Linked DNA regions of Homo sapiens: region 2 is linked to region 1. Evidence: promoter capture Hi-C in 16 types of primary human blood cells and fetal thymus (Javierre and others, 2016). All regions are on one chromosome and are shown on one strand. Each heading gives the region's core, a stretch centred on a gene start or on the middle of the fragment in contact. The rest is flanking DNA. Distances are from core to core; before and after follow the strand shown.

Region 1 (6,784 bases), core at 30-2,529:
CCCGGGTGAGAGAGGGAGACCCCGTCTCTAAAAATAAAATGTAAAATCACTGAAAAAATGAGTGTTCGGTGAAACAAGTGGGATTTTCTGGGCCAGCAAGTCTTCCAAACTGTATATGATGCATCCTGTCTCCATGTGTAATATATTTTAATGATAAATGTATTTTTAACAGTGGCGGTTGTGTATGTTTTTATGTCTTAAGAGATGGCAGTTCGCTGCAGCTGGATTTTGTGGCTCAAGCCTTGGGGCCAAAGAGACATATTCCTGGCAGTCTGGTGGGTACCAGTCACTATTCACATACTTCCAGCAAGAAATGGTTATGGCACTGACCTGAACCCCTTGACCCCTGGTCTGGTCTTTGGAGTTGTCCCACTCTGAATATTCGAGAGAAGCAGCTTATGGTTAAAACAGGCAGTGGCAGCTGGGAGGATCTAACAGCTAGATCCTCCAGGCATTTGGAAAGGACAGGGGCATAACGAAGGCAGAATCGCTTCCTGGGTACGAATGCCCACTACTTCTGGGCACTGTGAAATGGGTTTAAGACGCGGGCCAGCAGGACAATGTGAACGGTGAAAGGAAGGGAGTGGCCGGTAGGTGGCGCTAACTGGCCCGGGCATGAGTCCCGCCGTAGCCGCGTCCTCTTGCAGGGGAAGAAAGTTGGGACCGCCAGCCTGGGCAAGCGCGTGAGAAGGGAGCTGGGGGTCCTAGGCAAGCGCGTGAGAAGGGGAAGAGGCGGCGGCGTCCTCTCCAGCTGGGCTTAGAATACTCTTAGTTCTGCCTTTGGGGTCTTGTCTTCCTTTCTGGGCCTCCTGCCTGTGTTAACTTTGATGGGTGCTGAAGGGAAGGCCGGGGTCCCGGCAGGAGAAACCCGGGAACGTCGCGGCCGTCCAGGCTCCCCTGGCGGGTTGGAGCCAGGGTTCTGACTGCCAACTGTGGTCCTTCCCGCTGCGGCTGTGGCTGCCAGGGCGAGGGCGGTCAGCGCAAACCTGGCTGAGGACATTTCGGATTCTTCCTTGGGGATTCGTTCCCTTCTCCTTGACTCCGGTGCCGCGAGGGCGACACCCTCCGGGCCCCGCGTGGCCACCCCGGGCGCTTCCCCACGCGGATGAACCCACCTCCTGGGCGCCTTCCCCTCGGTGCCCCGCTCGCCAATTGGAGGCTGCAGCTCAGCCCCCTGACAACCTGAGCCAACCAGAGGCGCCAGGGAGGGGCGGATCCTCTGTCCCCACCTTCCTCCGGAAAGAGGAAGCGGAAGTGACGTTAGGGGAAGGTGGGGGCAATCATGGTGCCGCTGGGGAGGGGAGAAGCTGCTGCTGCCGCCGTTGCCGGGAGCCGCGGAGGTAAAAGGCGAAACTAGACTCGGCCTGGGCTTGGGACTTACCGGGAGGCGCGGGACTTAGGCTCCCTCCTGAAGCATTTCCCAATAGAGACCTCAGTTTGGTCACCATAGGGACCCCACCCCTTCTCCGTTTCCATGGGGATGGGTATCCAGCCCCCCTTCCCTGTTTCCATGGAGACCCGGACCCTGCCCCTCTCCTCCTTGCTTGGAGACCCCCAGCTTGTCTTCGGATTTTTCTGTGTAGCCCTGTGCTGGGGGCTATCCCAGACAGGTTCCTTTTCCCAGCCTCCTCTCAAGGGGGCTCTGTTCGCACTCCTCGTTGGCTACCCTCAAACCTCCTGGTCTTGTTTGTTTCGGACAGTTGGTCTCCGCGTTGCCGCCGAGGGTGCCGGGGCAGCCCACTGGGGCCCTCGGTGCTCTTCTCTCTCTGCTCAGATGCAGCGAAATGTACATCTGTGGGGTTGCGTAAGCCAGAGCTAGGGGTCGGGCCGGTACCTCCCGGATCCAATCCTTTGGCCTGTCTCTGGTAACTGTCTAGCCATCCCACTAAGTAAAGGCTCACTTTCTAACCCAGAGCAGAAGAGAAAGATAAAGCGCAAAGCCAGACTGAAAACTAAAAGGGATGTGCTGATTATTTTAAAATTCTCTATTCTGCCTGCCAAACCCACATTTGTAGAGCCTGTGTTTGCAGATGAAGGAAGAATCACTATTCCAGAACATGAAAGCTTCAAATGTGGTATTTTTCTCAAGAGAATGTATCTTCCCAAGATAGTATATCTTCACGAGAGAGTAGGTAGCCATGTCTTTCAGTCATTTAGCTGACATTTCCTGAACTCTTATCATAGTATCAGTGTACTATGCTAGGAGCTGTAGAAACAAAAATAATAAGACTCAATTGATTCAGGGACGAGAGCCCACCACAGAACCATAACTTCTTGTTGACACCATATTGTTTTAGGACATAAATAGATACAGTGATCTTCGTTGTTTGTGCCTGATTGAGGAATAGCCCTTCCACCCAGAAGGTTGAAACATCTGTTCTAGGTAGGGGGGAAGGAATTCATACTTGTTCCTCTACTATTTACCAAACATTGTGCTTTACATATGTTGCCTCTTTTATTTCTTATAAAAACTTTGAGAGAACAGGAATTACTGGTCCCACCTTGCACGTAAGAAAAATGAGGCACAGAAAAGTTACCCATGTAGTAAAAGGCAAAGACAGGATTTGTAGGTAGATGACTCTGCCTCCAAAGCCTTGCTCCTTCTACCATAAACTGCATGAAACCATTTACTGCCTCGTGGTCTGATTTGGAGGATATTTGAATGGATGGAGTTTCCCTTAAGATTTGTAGCAACTCAGCCTTTCAGCAGCTGCTGTTCTGTTTGCTCTTTTGTCCCCTTTAAATATTTTGACCAAGTTTCAAATTGTTTGACAGGCGTATTCAGAAGGTCTTATGAACTTATTCAGTTTTTGAAAAGCATTGCTTTTCTTTCTTTTTCTTTTTTTTTTTTTTTTATTAGAGATGGGGGTCTCACTATGTTGACCAGGCTGATCTCAAACTCCTGGCCTCAAGCGATCCTCCCATCTTAGCCTCCCAAAGTGTTGGGATTACAGGTGTGAGCCACCACGCCCAGTCGGCATTGCTTTTCTTTAAAAATGACTTGATGGTTTTAAAGTTAAAATAAAAAAATTATTCCCAAGGATGGTTTTTCATTTGCTTTGGCTTGCTCTTTAAGTGAGAGGGAAAATGAGCCTTGTGGTTGCTGAGGAGGTCCGTCGGTCTTGTGGTATGACTCTAACTCTGGCTTTGTTCTGTTGCAGACAAGTCATTACGTTTTCATTTCTCACAACTGGGCTGAGCACAACTGAACCATGGGGGAACACAGTCCAGACAACAACATCATCTACTTTGAGGCAGAGGAAGATGAGCTGACCCCCGATGATAAAATGCTCAGGTTTGTGGATAAAAACGGACTGGTGCCTTCCTCATCTGGAACTGTTTATGATAGGACCACTGTTCTTATTGAGCAGGACCCTGGCACTTTGGAGGATGAAGATGACGACGGACAGTGCGGAGAACACTTGCCTTTTCTAGTAGGGGGTGAAGAGGGCTTTCACCTGATAGATCATGAAGCAATGTCCCAGGGTTATGTGCAGCACATTATCTCACCAGATCAGATTCATTTGACAATAAACCCTGGTTCCACACCCATGCCAAGAAATATTGAAGGTGCAACCCTCACTCTGCAGTCGGAATGTCCGGAAACAAAACGTAAAGAAGTAAGTAAAGCAGTCAGTGAGGGCCTAGTTTGGTTTTGGGGCAAGTCCTTACAAAATTCTTGGTGCAAATTTTAGCTGGGGAGTAAAGGAGTGCATGGGGTTAGGACTTAAGTAGTTTTGCTATCAACAACATATGCCTCAGGTTTTGTTGTGATTGCTTCTGGAACTTTTGGTTTGTATAGCCACATTGAAATTTGGGAATATCAAATTGTAATTTCTCGAATTTCCTTCCCCAAATCATAAATAAAACAGAAATTTCACTTAAGTAGACCCATGTTTCTGGTGCTAAAATAACTATTTAGCTTATCTACAGGGAAATAACTGGAGTTTGCTTATTTGATGAAGAAATAACTATATTTGGCTTATCTCCTGGTTGTGTTTAAATGATTTGTTTTAGAGATGAGTATCTGCTGGAATATGTTTTATTATCTTAGTGAATGTTTAATGAACTTTTATTTCACAGTGGCACACGCCTGTAATCCCAGCACTTTGGGAGGCTGAGGCGGGTGGATCATTTGAGGTCAGGAGTTCGAGAGCAGCCTGGCCAACATGGTGAAACCCTGTCTCTGCTAAAAATACAAAAATTAGCCAGGCTTGGTGGCACATGGCTGTAATCCCAGCTACTCAGGAGGCTGAGGCAGGAGAATCACTTGGACCCGGGAGGCAGAGGTTGCAGTGAGCCGAGATCATGCCACTGTACTCCAGCCTGGGCGATAGAGTGAGACTCCATCTAAAAAAAAAAAAAAAAAAAGAAAGAAATTCAGGCTGGGCACAGTGGCTCATGCCTGTAATCCTAACACTTTCTGTAATCCCAGCACTTTGGGAGGCCGAGGCAGGTGGATCACCTGAGGTTAAGAGCACCCTGGCCAACATGGTGAAACTCCATCTGTACTAAAAATAGAAAAATTAGCCAGGCATAGTGGCGGGTGCCTGTAATCCCAGCTATTTGGGAAGCTGAGGCAGGGGAATTACTTGAATCTGGGAGGTGGAGGTGGCAGGGAGCCAAGATCGTGCCACTGCACTCCAGGCTGGATGAGAGAGAGAGACTCAGTCTCAAAAAAAAAAAAAAAAAAAAAAAAAGGAAATTCAGGCAAGAGACAGTAAATGAGAGCAGGTTATCTAAAATAAGTTTTCATTTTCATGTTTAGCTAATGTGAGTAAGCTAATGCATGTCAGGATGTTTTGAAAACTGTAAAGCATTTTACAAATTATATTAGTGGTTATTATTAGCAGAATAAAAGTTCTGGTTTAAAGGTAGTGATATACATTATCTAGGAACTATTTTTTTTTTTGAGATGGAGTTTCACTCTTGTTGCCTAAGCTGGAGTGCAGTGGTGCGATCTTGGCTCACTGCAACCTCTGCCTCCTGGGTTCTAGCAATTCTCCTGCCTCAGCCTCCTGAGTAGCTGGGATTACAGGCACGCACCACCATGCCCAGCTAATTTTTTGAATTTTTAGTAGAAATGAGGTTTCACCATGTTAGCCAGGCTGGTCTCGAACTCTTGACCTCAGGTGATCCACCTGCCTTGGCCTTCCAAAGTGCTGGGATTACAGGCATGAACCACCATGCCCGGCCCATCCAGGAACTATTACAGGTCAATTAGAAAAAAATAAGTCACTAGTAGTTACAGTACCAAGGACTAAGATGTTACCAAACAGAAATAGGGTGAATGATTTAGCAAGGAATATCTTTTTTGCTGTGGTTGAGGTCTTAAAATTGCATATGGCTTATTGATGGCATATCACTTTTCCTTTGCTAGCCTTAGAGAGACCATCTTGTCCCACCTCCTACCCTATGCAGAAATCTCCCTATGGCATCCCTGACATCAGTTAATCTTGTTTCTGCTTGAAGACATCCAGAACAACAAGAGCAGAGTGTTTCATACCCCAACCCAATACATTTGTTAGCCAGCTCTGATTGTTAGAAAGCTTTTACTTGTATAGAACCAAAACCTGCCTTTCTGCAGGTGCTGCCCACTGGTTCTAGATCTGCCTTCCTGAGTAAACTTTCTCCCACAGAACAGTCCATCAGCTATTTGAAGATCATGGATTTTTCTTCCTCTTGTACAGGCTAACCACCTCCATTTACTTAAATGTCCCTCTGTGACATTTTCCCCAGTCTCTCATCAGCCTAGTCACCTTTGATTATATGAATTCCAGTTTTCCAAGGTCCTTTTTTTCTTCTTTTTTTGAGATGGAGTTTTGCTGTTGTTGCCCAGGCTGGAGTGCAGTGGCGTGATCCCGGCTCACTGCAACCTCCGCCTCCCAGGTTCAAGCGATTCTCCTGCCTCAGCCTCCCAAGTAGCTGGGATTACAGGCATGCGCTACCACACCCAGCTAATTTTGTATTTTTAGTAGAGACAGGGTTTCTCCATGTTGGTCAGGCTGATCTCGAACTCCTGACCTCAGGGGATATGCCTGCCTTGGCCTCCCAAAGTGCTGGGATTACAGGCATGAGCCACCGCGCCCGGCCCCAGAGTCCTTTTAAAATCTGCAGTTGAGCGCAGTCTCATAAGTGTGAGTCAACTAGCACTGAATACAGTATGGCTCTTATCTCTTAATCTGGACACTGTACTACAATTACTATATAGTCTACATTTTATCAGCAACATCTTACTGTTAGCTTATAGTTGGAAATTTCTAGAGTAGTGCTTCTTAACTGCGGGCAGCTTTGCCCTCAGGAGATGTTTGGCAATGTCTAGAAACATTTTGTATTGTCATACTGTGGAGGCGATACTGGAATCTAGTGGGTAGAGGTTAAAGACATTGTTAAATGTTTTACAGTGCACAGGACAGCCCCCTACAACAAAGAACTGGCCCAAAATAGTGATAGTGCTGGGATTGAGAAACCCTGCTCTAGATTATTCTCATGTATGCAGCTGTCAGATCTAACAAAAATGAAAATGGAGACCTGCATGTAAGCCTTATTAAGAATATCTCCCGGCTGGACATGGTGGCTCACGCCTGTAATCCCAACACTTTGGGAGGCCAAGGCTGGTGGATCACCTGAGGTCAGGAGTTCGAGACTAGCCTGGCCAACACAATGAAACCCTGTGTCTATTAAAAATACAAAAAATTAGCCGGGCGTGGTGGCAGACGCCTGTAATCCCAGCTACTCTGGAGACTGAGGCAGGGGAATTGCTTGAACCCGGGAGGTGGAGGTT
Region 2 (6,784 bases), core at 2,636-5,135, 970 kb before region 1:
AGTAGCTGGGATTACAGGCGTGCACCACCAGGCCTGGCTAATGTTTTGTGCTTTTAGTAGAGATGGGGTTTCACCATGTTGGCCAGGCTGGTCTCGAACTCTTAACTTCAAGTGATCTGCTCGCCTCGGCCTCCCAGAGTGCTGGGATTACAGGCGTGAGCCACCACACCCAGCCTGGACTGATAAAATATTAGAAGGCATGTGGGAGACAATTAATTTGGTTTATTACAAAGTAACCTGCCGAACAGACAGGAACTTGACTTAGAGAAATGGAATATTAATTTTCTACAATATTCTTTTTGCTTTTCTTTAAAAAAGAGGTGCTGGCACACACATTTTAGCAAATTGTGAATATTCCTTCCTTTCTTTCCATGGCCTCTCTCTTATCTCCATGCAAATTGGCATGCAAACTTTGTGTTCCAGGTAATGAGGCTCCAGACAGGGCCTATCTTTCTCTGAAAAGCAGTGCTGGCATGTTCTGTACTGAGGCTTTTTCCCAGAAAATGTACTGCCTCTACAGCTTTGGAAGATGAACTGAGAAATAACGCTTATAACCCTACCAAACATTTCTCGAATATCTGTCTTGACTTTGGAAAGGGAGCTATTGGCCATTTCCATGCTTGGAGGATTCTTTTCTTCTACTGCACTGTAGTTCTTCCTGGCTAGATGTCTAGCACGGAGGCTCCTTGGACTAGTTCCTCACATGACCCCTGTGGCAGTCTATTGATGGGAACGGGACAATTGAGAAAGGCAGGCAGGCTGTCTGGCAAAAAGAAACTCATTAGGGTCAGGGGCCACAGGATCTCCATGGAGATGTTCTCTGGACTACTAGAGTGTTGAGGCTGGATGAAGGGGAAGAGGGCTGAGCTAGAGATCGAATTGGCATACTGAGTGGGAGCAGGGTGGGGTGGGAGGCAGAACTGGGCCTTAGGGAGGGCCTTGGTCAGTCAATGGAAGGAAGACAGCTGGAACAGAAGTTAGAATGATTCATGCAGTGAGAAGGAAACCAGGTAGAAAGGGAGGAATGCTCACCACTGAAATGTCTCTTATTTGTTGAAATGAAATTAAGGTCTCTAATTTGTTCTTATCCTTCAGGTTTCTGTGCCTGGAATCTGGAAAAGGAGACAGATTCTCCTAGATTTTGCCTAGGAATGTTAGTGACCTTGAGAGGCCTTCCAAATGGAGATCTGGGCCACACAGTGGAGATCTCGACCTGCCTCTGTAGGTCCTTGACTCTCCTCTTCCAATGTATCAAGTCCTTCATTTATTCTTGATTTCTTTCAGATCCAAAATAATGGTCAAAAAAGTGCTGTTTAGCTGGTATTATTTTCATGTTATCCCTTACCACAGTTTATCTCAATTCTCACAGGAGCCTCAATGCTTATCTCTTAGATCCTTTTCTTCTTTTAAAAAATTTGGGCTAGCCTATACTAATAATTGTACTAGTTTAATTAAAATTATGATTAGCAGTAGCATGCGTATCTTAATATTTGAGAGCTTACAGCTTGCCAGCCGTTGTGCTAAGAGCCTTACTTGTGCCTTCTCCTCTAATCCATCCAGTGTAATGAGGTTGGAGCTATTGTTGTGGTCCATTTTACAGATGAGAAAACTGAGGCACAGAGAACCTGCAGGAACATATTGCTAGTTTTATTGGCATAGCTTGGAATTGAAGTCCCATCTGTCTGATGCCAGAGCAAAGATCTGCCTTCCTGATAGTAACAGAGCTTCTTAGAGGCTGCCAGGAAGGAAGGAAGAAGGAACGAGGGAAAATGCTACATTGGGACTCCGAGCAGCTTATCCCGGGACTTTCTGAGAGCAGCTGTACACACCCGTTGTGGCAGAGGCAGAATAAGCTTTCTTCTCCTTTTGCATAGAGATAATATTTCCAGCCACTCTTGCAATTAGGGATGGCTATGTGAGTTCTACCAATGGAATGTGAGTGGAGGTGACATATTCCATTTCTAGGCGTAGCCCATGTAATCATCTCAGGCATGATCCTCCATGTTCTTTTCCCTTCTACTAGATCACTGCAGATGAGCACAGAAACACTGTTGAAAATGCAGAGCCTTGACACGGAAGGAATCTGGATTCCTGGATCACACAGTGGAAGGCTCATCTGCTGACCAGAAACACTTGCATTGGACTGATGAGCAGTACATAGATGTCTCTGCTGTTAAGCTTTTGAGATTATGGGCTTTATCTATTATAACAGCTAGTGTTACCCTAACTTACACACTAACATACTGTATGGGTCATGATTCTTGGCTATGAGCTCAGGCAGATAGTGGGTGAATGAACCAGAAAGATCCAGTTTTTGTGACCAGTTACAAAATGCCAGAAAGAAATAATGTTTCTTAGGCAAAAGAGATTATAGTGATTACTAGAATTTGAAGTCGGGTTTATTGGATACTCATCAGAGTGAACTTCTCATGCGAGGAGATCACCGAACTATCTTAGGAGTCCGTGGATGGGTTACAGAGGCTTTAGGAGCCCCTGAATTTGTGTGCAAAATTATATGTACCAACTGGACAGAGAGAACCTGGCCTTTTCAGTCTCCAAAAAGGTGAGGAACCAGTTGTGAATCTGAGCATAAGCCACTTAGGAGGCTTATTTAGAACAGAAATGCAAAATTGGACTTGGCTGCATGTTCTGGATTTCACATTTTTTTCCCTAGGATTTCCAATTCTGCCCCTTATATATGTAAAAACTATAAAAGGAGAGCTTTTCTTGAAACTGATACATTGGCATATGGTACAAGTGTCAATGAGCAAGTAAAATAGTCTGGGTGAGGGAAATCATGAATATAAAACGTAATTGTCTTGTGGTCAAGTAGAACATGAAGCCAATCATTTTGGGAGGAAAAATAAGCCTAGCTCATTAGTTCCCCCCTTCTGGCCTGCCAGCTTCCTCTTCTCTGTGTGTCCGAGGGTCACTGCCCTTCGTGTCCCCTGACGGGTCCCTTCTGTAACGAGGCTTCCTCGATTCGGCATCTCCCTTCTTGATGGCATTCCTCAGTGGAGGGGAGGAAGAGTTTCCTCAACCCACTGAGGGTTCCTGGCCAGGTCTAGTAAAACAGACAAAGACAGGTTAACAGGATCAGCACCATAAGACAAGGCAAGAAAAGAAAGAAAAAAAAGACAGGTTAACAGGAGAAAAGCATAATAGATTTATTTAAAGTTTTACATGACATGGGCCGGGCGTGGTGGCTCACGCCTGTAATCCCAACACTTTGGGAGGCTGAAGGGGGTAGATCACCTGAGGTCAGGAGTTCAAGACCAGCCTGCCAACGTGGTGAAACCCCATTTCTACTAAAAATACAAAAAAATTAGCCGGGCATGATGGCGGGCGCCTGTAATCCCAGCAACTCGGGAGGCTGAGGCAGGAGAATCGCTTGAAGCCAGGAGGCAGAGGTTGCAGTGAGCCAAGATTGCACCATTGCACTCAAGCCTGGGCAACAAGAACGAAACTTCATCTCAAAAAAAGAAAAAAGGAAAGAAAATGAAATAATGTTTTACATGACACGGGAGCCTTTAGAAACGAAAACCAGAGACACAGGGAAAACTGTCCATTTTTATGCTTCAATTAGATGAAGAACGGACAGCCGTGTAGAAATGGGATTGGACACAGAGGGTAAGACCTCGTGGTAACAGACTGAAGGGGGACACCCTGCAAGGTCTGTCCAGATTCTTCTTGGCCTTTCTATGCAACATTCCTTCCTCCAGGGTATAGGGCAGGACACCTCCTGGAATGAGGGTCTTAAGACCTACTATCAGACAAGGTAGGTCAGAGAATTTCCTTATGGTTAGCTCTTACACAGAAAGGTGGGAAAATGTTAGAGTAACATTATAGATTTTATGGCTGGCTTTGGGAGAGAGGGGTTCTAGTTGCTATGACCTACCTTGGGGAAGAGGGATTCTAGTTTTTTGTTTCTTGGCTTTTTTTTTTTTTTTTTAAGACAGAGACTCGCTCTGTCACCCAGGCTGGTGTGCAGTGGCGCGATCTCAGCTCATTGCAACCTCTGCCTCCCGTGCTCAAGGGAGCCTCCCACCTCAGCCTCCTGAGTAGCTGGAACTATAGGTAGTGCCACTACGCCCAGCTAATTTTCTTTTGTATTTTTAGTAGAGACAGGGTTTTCCCATGTTGCCCAGGCTGGTCTCAAACTCCTGGGATCAAAATGCTAGGATTATGGATGTGAGCTACCATGCCCAGCCAGAATTTCAGTTTTATGGCCTGCCTTTAGGTAAAAATGGGAGCAGGAGAAAGAAGAGCAGGAGAAGATCAGAAAGAGACTTCTGAGCCCCTTTCCTTCAGTTCAAAGTATTCAGCACGTCCAGGCATCACACTTTAGGGTACTGTGTTCTGAGCCCCAACATTTTGAAGATTCCTGGCCCACATTTTGGCCCATCTAATTTCTTTTTCAATTATCCTGTATATTTAATGAAATTCTGCAAGGGCAATCACTAGGCTGAAGGGCAGAGTCTGTGTATTTGCCAGTCCTCTTTTTTATGCAGTAGGGGTGCCTGGCACAGGGCTGGCTTCATAGTATACACTCAGTACAGGCTTCACTGTGCTGGGTAAGAATGGGAAAAATGTAAACAACATGACTGGGAGACACAACTTGTGATCCGTTTAAGGCTGCTCAGGGGCAGTGGTTGCTGGGCTTGCTGTGGGTGACAGTGAGGCTGGGGTCCAAGCCAGATGCTTATTCATTCATTCAACAAATCCTTAGTGAGTGCTTGCTGGATGCAAGGCTGTGTTCTAGGTTCCCAGGATCTATCAGTGAACAAGAGAGCAAAGTCCTTGCCATTATAGTGCTGACTGAATTTCAACCTGACAAAAGTTAGGATGCAGATGGGGGAGAACGGAGTCTCAGAGAAGTGAAGTGGCTTGCCCTAAATCACGCAGCTGGTAAGCCAATGAGTGCTGACCTTCTGACTCCAAGCCCTACACATATCAACACATCAAGAGAATAAGGAGGATAAACATTAGAGGTGATTTAACAACAAATTCTGGTGTGTGTGTGACTTTACACACCTAGAATGAACAGATTGTTTATGTCAAAACGTACTATTAAATTAAACAAGAGAAACTAGGAAATATGCTTATTATGTATAATAGAGAAAGTTAATTTTTTTTTTTTGAGATGGAGTTTCACTCTCATTGCCCAGGCTAGAGTGCAATGGCACGATCTCAGCTCACTGCAACCTCCACCTCCCGGGTTCAAGTGATTTTTTTGCCTCAGCCTCCCAAGTAGCTGGGATTACAGGCACCCGCCACCATGCCTGGCTAATTTTTTGTATTTTTAGTAGAGACGGGGTTTCACCATGCTGGCCAGGCTGGTCTCAAACTCCTGACCTCATGATCCACCCACCTTGGCCTCCCAAAGTGCTGGGATTACAGGCATGAGCCACTGCGCCCAGCCTGAAAGTTAATATTTTTTATACAATTTTACAAATCAGTAAAAAATACATTCTAAAACAAAATGAGGGAAAGATATTAGTGTGTGACACGAAGTAGAAGAGGCCAAAACCATGAAAACCCATAAAACCTCACTAATAATAGAAGAAATGAACACTAAAATAATAAGCTTCCCTTTCTCTTTATCAAATGGGTATTTTTTTCAAAGGATGATATTCAATGTTGATAAGAATACAAGAACGGGATCTTTCATACATGTTTTAGCCATCAATTTTAGGATGTTCTTAAATAGATTGATTCTTGTACTTTAAAATAATATAGATTCGAAACATCTCATTACTTTTTTAAAACCATATTAACAGTGTTTTCCAATTTTTCTACAGTGAATGAATATGTATCCTTTTTATAATTAACAATATACATATATGCATTTTTAAAAATCCTTTAAAAATTGAAGGGGATAGGAGGAGGAGGTGTTTATTGGTTTTAATATGTCGTAGAAAATGGTCTTAGACTGAGAGCAGGGACCCGAGTTTATTGACTGCAGTCTGCAAAGTATCCAAGTGCCATCTTGTGCACTCTCACCTGGCCTGGCTGCAGCTCTCCGTCAGAGCCTGATCAGCTCTTCCAGTCCTCTGAGCGTGGTCTGTGCAGTTTCTGTTGTTGTTTTATTACGTGTCTATAGTGGTTCTTAACCATAGTTGCACACTAGAACCACTTGGGGTGAGTATAAAAAAAAATAGTGATACCAGGCCCATCCCAAACTATAGCCATGTGCCGCTTAGTGACAGGGATACATTCGGAGAAATGTGATGTTAGGCAATTTCAGCACTGTGTGAACATCACAGGATGTGCTTGCACAAACCGAAATGGTACAGCTTCCTACATACCTAGGCTATAGGGGGTAGCCTATTGCTCCTAGGCTACAAACCTGTACAGCATGTTACTTACTGAATACTGTAGGCAATTACAACACAATGGTTAAGTATTTGCGTATCTAAACATAGAAAAGGTACAGTAAAAATAAAATCATATGGTACCACTGTAGTATGTGTGGTCCATGGTTGAGCAAATTGTCATTATGTGGTGCATGATTATAAGTAAATAAGGCTGTTCCCATGTGGCTTAATGTCAGTTAGTGTTGAGAACCACCAGCTTCTAGGCTGGATCAAACTACCTCTAGCTACTCTGTGTGCCTACGCCTAGGTCATGTGACATATTGCAGGCTTGTTCAATTGACTTAAATAGGTTTGGTTTCTCAGCTCCTCAAGCACGAAGAATTATTTTTGCTGCTGCTTTTTGTGTGTGTGTGTGCTAACCCAAAGTGTCAAAGAGAGACACACAAGAGGTGAAGAGGTGGCAGATG

The links. Contacts are between HindIII fragments. The CHiCAGO score rates a contact against its expected background, and 5 or more counts as called.
Region 2: a fragment that was not itself captured here is called in contact with the fragment with the promoter of MTF1 in region 1 in 1 of 17 cell types (non-activated CD4 T cells); the score reaches 5.2 in non-activated CD4 T cells.

What each region holds. Positions count from the first base shown.
Region 1 is chr1:37,854,087-37,860,870 of GRCh38, reverse strand. MTF1 (metal regulatory transcription factor 1) reads left to right here and starts at 1,279. Exons shown (of 11, transcript NM_005955.3): 1 at 1,279-1,340; 2 at 3,162-3,620. The coding sequence starts at 3,213. INPP5B (inositol polyphosphate-5-phosphatase B) reads left to right here. Exons shown (of 24, transcript NM_005540.3): 24 at 1-174. RefSeq lists a silencer at 1,013-1,342. The HindIII fragment of the contact is 3,574 bases long and covers 1-2,066 here.
Region 2 is chr1:38,827,366-38,834,149 of GRCh38, reverse strand. No RefSeq gene overlaps it. Among named protein-coding and RNA genes, the nearest start is that of RRAGC, 29 kb to the left of the region's middle. The HindIII fragment of the contact is 3,409 bases long and covers 2,181-5,589 here.